Linked DNA regions of Homo sapiens: region 2 is linked to region 1. The links are contacts of gene promoters, found by promoter capture Hi-C in blood cells and fetal thymus (Javierre and others, 2016). All regions are on one chromosome and are shown on one strand. Each heading gives the region's core, a stretch centred on a gene start or on the middle of the fragment in contact. The rest is flanking DNA. Distances are from core to core; before and after follow the strand shown. Region 1 holds the start of OXT (oxytocin/neurophysin I prepropeptide). Region 2 overlaps DNAAF9 (dynein axonemal assembly factor 9).

What was found. Contacts are between HindIII fragments. The CHiCAGO score rates a contact against its expected background, and 5 or more counts as called.
Region 2: a contact is called between a fragment that was not itself captured here and the fragment with the promoter of OXT in region 1, in 1 of 17 cell types (naive CD4 T cells). The highest score is 5.3, in naive CD4 T cells.

Annotation. Positions count from the first base shown.
Region 1 is chr20:3,070,321-3,073,020 of GRCh38, reverse strand. It overlaps OXT (oxytocin/neurophysin I prepropeptide), which reads right to left and starts at 1,401. Exons shown (of 3, transcript NM_000915.4): 1 at 1,246-1,401; 2 at 743-944; 3 at 504-658. The coding sequence starts at 1,365. The coding sequence ends at 603. LOC101929098 (a long non-coding RNA gene) reads left to right here and starts at 722. Exons shown (of 2, transcript XR_430278.4): 1 at 722-824. RefSeq lists an enhancer at 1-150 and a silencer at 626-735. The HindIII fragment of the contact is 21,298 bases long and covers 1-2,700 here.
Region 2 is chr20:3,318,770-3,321,469 of GRCh38, reverse strand. All of the region lies in intron 16 of DNAAF9 (dynein axonemal assembly factor 9), which reads left to right. Among named protein-coding and RNA genes, the nearest start is that of SLC4A11, 81 kb to the right of the region's middle. The HindIII fragment of the contact is 1,550 bases long and covers 616-2,165 here.

The sequences.
Region 1 (2,700 bases), core at 152-2,651:
GGCCTCCTGGGGGCCAGCTCCTTGGAAACATGTTGGCCCTTCAGCTGCTCCCCAGGGCCCCCTCCCCCCAGGCCCGCTCCGCTCCCTCAACTTCTAAGTGTGGCTCAAACCTCCTTTCAGGGGTCAGGAAGCCATTCAGTGTGCACTGCCCGCTTCCTGTGGTCATCCCGCTCAGACCCTTGTCTGTATTTGCTCCCTCATCCTCGTCTTTTTGAATTTTGAAAGATCCCCTGAGGTGCAGCCTGCTGTAGGCCTCAGCCCAGGCTGGGAGCGGGAAGCTGGGGCTGTTTCCACGTCCTCAGAGCCTTTGTGCCCCTCCCTCTTCCAGCCCCTCCAGGGTGGTGGCAGCCAGAACAGCACCCGCTCTGTCCCCTCGGGTAGCCGGGACACGTCTTCCTGGGCCAGCTCTGAGCGCAACAAGCCACAGGTCCAACGCGCGCGATCTTCCAGTCCCACAATGCCCCCTCCCCGTCCCATTTCTGGCACTTAGACACGAGTCAAGGTAGAGGAGAAAAACCTGCTTTATTTTATTTTCACCATTTCTGGGGTGGCTATGGGGGAAGCGAGTGGCGCGCTTCGAGGGTGTTCGGAGCCATCAAGTTTCAGCGCTGGGAGAAGGTGGCTTCCGCGTCGCAGGCAGGGTCGGCGTGGCAGCCGTCTGGAGGAAGAGGTGGAGTCAGGGGAATCCCGGCCGCACCCCCGCCCGCCTCCCCCTGGCCCCGGAGCGCCTTGCCCCGCTCACCCGGGCTGCAGCAGAGGCCCAAGACCGCGCAGCGGCCCCCGCTCCCGCACGCCTTCTGGCCGGACTGGCAGGGCGACGGCAGGTAGTTCTCCTCCTGGCAGCGCAGCGCTTCGGCGGTGCCCACGAAGCAGCCCAGCTCTTCCGCGCAGCAGATATTGGGCCCGAAGCAGCGGCCTTTGCCCCCGGGGCCGCAGGGGAGGCACTGCGGGGACGGGCGGGGTGAGCGGGAGCCGGGGCGGCGCTGGGGACTCGCTCGGAGGACCCTGCGAGGCCGGCCGGGGTGCGCCGGGCAAGGATGCTGGGGTCCGGGGTTCGGAGTTCGGGCGGGACAGCGGGGCTGAGACGCGCTGGGGCGCCGTGGGGGCCTCGACCGCGGTCAAGGGCGGGGCGTCAAAATCCGCTCAGCTCCTGGAGTTCTCAGGCGAGGCCGGAGCGGGGCGCGCCCCTGTGGCTGCGGGTCCCTCCCTCCCCGGAGCGCCGCGGGACCAGGGCTGGGGACTCACCTTGCGCACGTCGAGGTCCGGCGCGGCCCTCTTGCCTCCCAGGGGGCAGTTCTGGATGTAGCAGGCGGAGGTCAGCGCCAGGAGGCCGAGCAGACAGCAAGCGAGGCTGGGGCCGGCCATGGTGCGGGTGCGCTGGGTCCAGGGTCCGTGACTGGTGGCGGTCTCTCCGGCCTGGCCTTTTTATGCCTGGGCATTGCGTCGGTGGAGCTCTGTTTAAGAGGTTGGTAGTATGATTGGTCACAGAGGGTCGCCGTGGGTCAGGCCGAGTGCGTACGGGCTTTCCTCTTCATTAGCAGGGCCTGGGCCGGGGTCAAGGTCACCGCGTTGGCTAATGGTCTGGGCACAGAAGGTGAGGTGCCTTGCGGAAGGGAGCAGGCCGGGGTGGCCTGGGCCACTAGGGTGGGACAGGGAGAATTTGGGGTGGGGTGTGGCCCAGCCGAAGACTTTATCCAGCCTCCCAGTACCTCGAGGAGGGGGGCTGGGGCAGGGAAGGTGGACGCTGGGACCCCTCCAGGTGGGAGGAGGCTCTGGCAGGATCCGCCCACCCTCTTGGCCCACCACGCATGTGGATCATTGTCCCCTCTTTTAGGAACATTTCCTCTTCCTAAACCCAAATTTCCAGAAAACCTCTTCACCCTCACCACACAGCAACACCCACTTCCCTGCACCTGAAACTTGGATAGGAAGAGATCACATCTGTCTCTAATCTGTAACTGATATTCCACCTTTCCTTTCACTATAAATTAGGCAACAAACCACAGCAGAATTAGCAATACCTGTGGCTTTGTCACAAATCAAAATAGAAGATAACTTCCTATCACAGCTGTCACAAATGCCTCTATATACTGTTTAGATTCATTATATCTTCAAAATTATCACAGTTATTGGGCCACGACCAGATCTTGCTATCTAATGGTTAAAGAAGCACGTTTATGACACCATCAAAATGTGTTTTGGCTGGGCGCTGTGGCTCACGCCTGCAATCCCAATACTTTGGGAGTCTGAGGTGGGCAGATCACTTGAGACCAGAAGTTCAAGACCAGCCTAGGCAACATAGCGAGAACCCCCAACTCTACAAAAAATACAAAAATTAGCTGGGCGTGTTGGTGTGCTCCTGTAGTCTCAGCTGCTTGGGAGGCTGAGGCAGGAGTACCGCTTAAGCCTGGGAATTCAAGACTGCAGTGAGCTGTGATCGTACCACTGCACTCCAGCCAGAGTGACAGAGCGAGAGCGAGACCCTGTCTCAAAAAAAAAAAAAGTGTTTTAACATTTTGATATCTGAATATAAATATATATATTTTTTTCTTGAGACGGAGTCTCGCTCTGTCGCCCAGGCTGGAGTGCAATGGCGGGCGCCATCTTGGCTCACTGCAACCTCCACCTCCTGGTTTCAAGCGATTCTCCTGTCTCAGCCTCCCAAGTAGCTTGGATTACAGACATGCACCACCACGCCTG
Region 2 (2,700 bases), core at 141-2,640, 250 kb before region 1:
ATACTGTATTTTTACCCACCATTTCTATGTGTAGATATGCCTAAATTCACAAATATTACCATCATGTTATAATTGCCTACAGTATTCAGTATAGTAACATGCTGTACGGGTTTGTAGCCTAGGAGCAATAGACTATACCAGCTAGCCTAGGTGTATAGTAGGCTACACCATCTAGGTTTAAGTACACTCTACAATGTTCACACAGTGATGAAATCAGCTAATGATGCATTTCTCAGAATGTATCCCTGTCATTAAGTGATACATGACTATAATTATTTAAATGGCCAATAATCAACAGGGACCTGGGTCTGCCATGAAGTAGAGTAGTCAGAGCAACGTTTTCCAACCTGTGTGCTGGGGGCATGGTTTGGAGATGCACTGAGATAATGGTCCCTGGGGTGGGATGGCATGGCGAAGGGGAGCCAGAGTTTCTAGGCCAGTTGTTCTCAGCCACAAGCTGAGTCCTCCCTTTACCCCAGAACATCCTGATGTGAAGAAGATTGGCAAATGGTACATGAGAGGGTAGTACATATCTAGCCAAGATTCTGTTTGTGGTGTGTGTTATATCTTGAGTCTGTTCTGTGACCACTGCCTGAGCCTTAGTTTGAAAAAGCTTTGGTCCCAGGGAACTGGGTGAGCAGCACCCAGTGGATAATTTGGTACAAGCGCATCCCCATCACCATCACCTGTGGAAAAGTAACTCAAAAGTTCCTGTCAGTAGTGTTAACCTATCTACAGAGAATAGCACAACAAGGGTAATTTTTTTAAGGTTGTAATTTATGTTTTTATAATGTTCCTGGTCCCCATCTGTCAACATTTTGTGTGGATGTTCTTTTAGAACTAGTTTAGACTTTTTTGTGATATCATTAAAACATTGGGAAATACTTTCTGATATTTAGGTGATAATACTTTATCTCCTTGTTAGACTTTAAATCCCTGACTTCTCTCCTTAGACTCTTGAGCAGTGCTTTGGAAGATGCTTTGCATAGTAGCAGGTGATTAGGAATCCAGTAAAATCATAGTCTTGCGTCAAGTATGCACAGCTAATGAGATAGGAAATAAGAGGCAGGAAGTTGATGCTTTTTGTCTACATTCTGTCCTCTTATCCAGAGATGAAGTTCTATATCCTCCCCAAAGCCTTCCCTGTTGATTTCTCCCTACAAGTATTCCTATAGTCCTTGCAGTTGCAGTTTGTACTACACAAATTAAGAAATAATTATATCCTAATGTGTCATATGATATCATAATGTGTCATATGATGACCTTCATATAAGAATGCCCTTGTTTCTCCAGCTATACATTATAGATTTCCTGAAGACAGGCACCATGCTGTATTTTTTCTTTCCCCGTGCCACATGGTGGGAAGTACATAACAAGTGTCCAACAAATGCTACATGTTATCTTTTTAATATCCTCTCTTCCCTTCCTCAATACCAGTGGCCAAATATGAACATGAAGGATCAGGAACCCCCAGGATCTGTCCACCTGATTGGTCTGGGAACCAAAGACATAGGATTGCCATTGTCACTTAAGAGGGACCATGTAGCTCAGGAGGGTTCTGTGTCTTCAGATGCTCGAAATCCTTTGAGACAGCTTTAGATAAACCTTCCAGTTGTCAAACCTGAAAGGAAAGTTAATTCAAATATAGACGCCTACTTGTCTCTTTTGTATATCCTATTATCATAATAATATGGAAAATTAAGGGCTTTGGCCTTAACTGTGGTTTTTTTCCTTTCAACCTTGTGGCCTCTTTAAGTTTTTATTTGAAAATTCAGCAATCCGTTCAAGAGCCTCAGATCTTTTGTCTCTGTCCTAAGGGGTGGGACAGGCGTCCCAGGCTAGGACGACAATATGTGAAAGTGGACTTAGGAGATCTGCACCAGCACCCACCGCTCACTACTATTCAGGGTAGGAGGGGACAGGTCCTTGTGCTACTTATCCCATGTCCCTCATCAGATCTTCCTGGTCATCACAGACTCTAGCTCTAGCTAACATCATTTTCTCTTTCTTCTGCTGGCTTCTTCCCGGAATTGTTTCATTTTCACTAGTTTTTACCTAATAAATTAGGGCTTTCTTACCAGACATTTGGGAGCTCTCTGAGTTGTTCTAATTTTGTTTCCAGGCTACTGAAGCCTCAGCTTTTATTTGTCTTGGCCATAAAAGCTTGATAGCTTTCTTGCTTTTTTTTTTTTTTTTTTTTTTTTTTTGAGACGGGGTCTCGGTCCGTTGCCCAGGCTGGAGTGCAGTGGCATGATCATAGATCACTGCAGCCTCAACCTCCTGGGCTCAAACAATCCTCCTGCCTTAGCCTCCTGAATAACAGAGACCACAGGCAGACGCCACCATGCCTGGCTATTTTTTTTTCTTTTTTTTTTTTTTTTTTTTTTGAGACAGAGTCTTGCTCTGTTGCCCAGGCTGGAGTTCAGTGGCGCGATCTCAGCTCACTGCAGCCTCCACCTCCCAGGTTCAAGCAATTCTCCTGCCTCAGCCTCCCAAGTAGCTGGGATTACAGGCACACGCCACCATGCCTGGCTAATTTTTTTTTGTATTTTTAGTAGAGATGGGGTTTCACCATGTTGCCCAGGCTAGTCTCAAACTCCTGGGCTCAAGTGATCCACCCGCCTCAACCTCCCAAAGTGTTGGGATTATGGGCATGAGTCATTATGCCTAGCCTAATTTTTTCTTTAGTAGAGTGGGGAT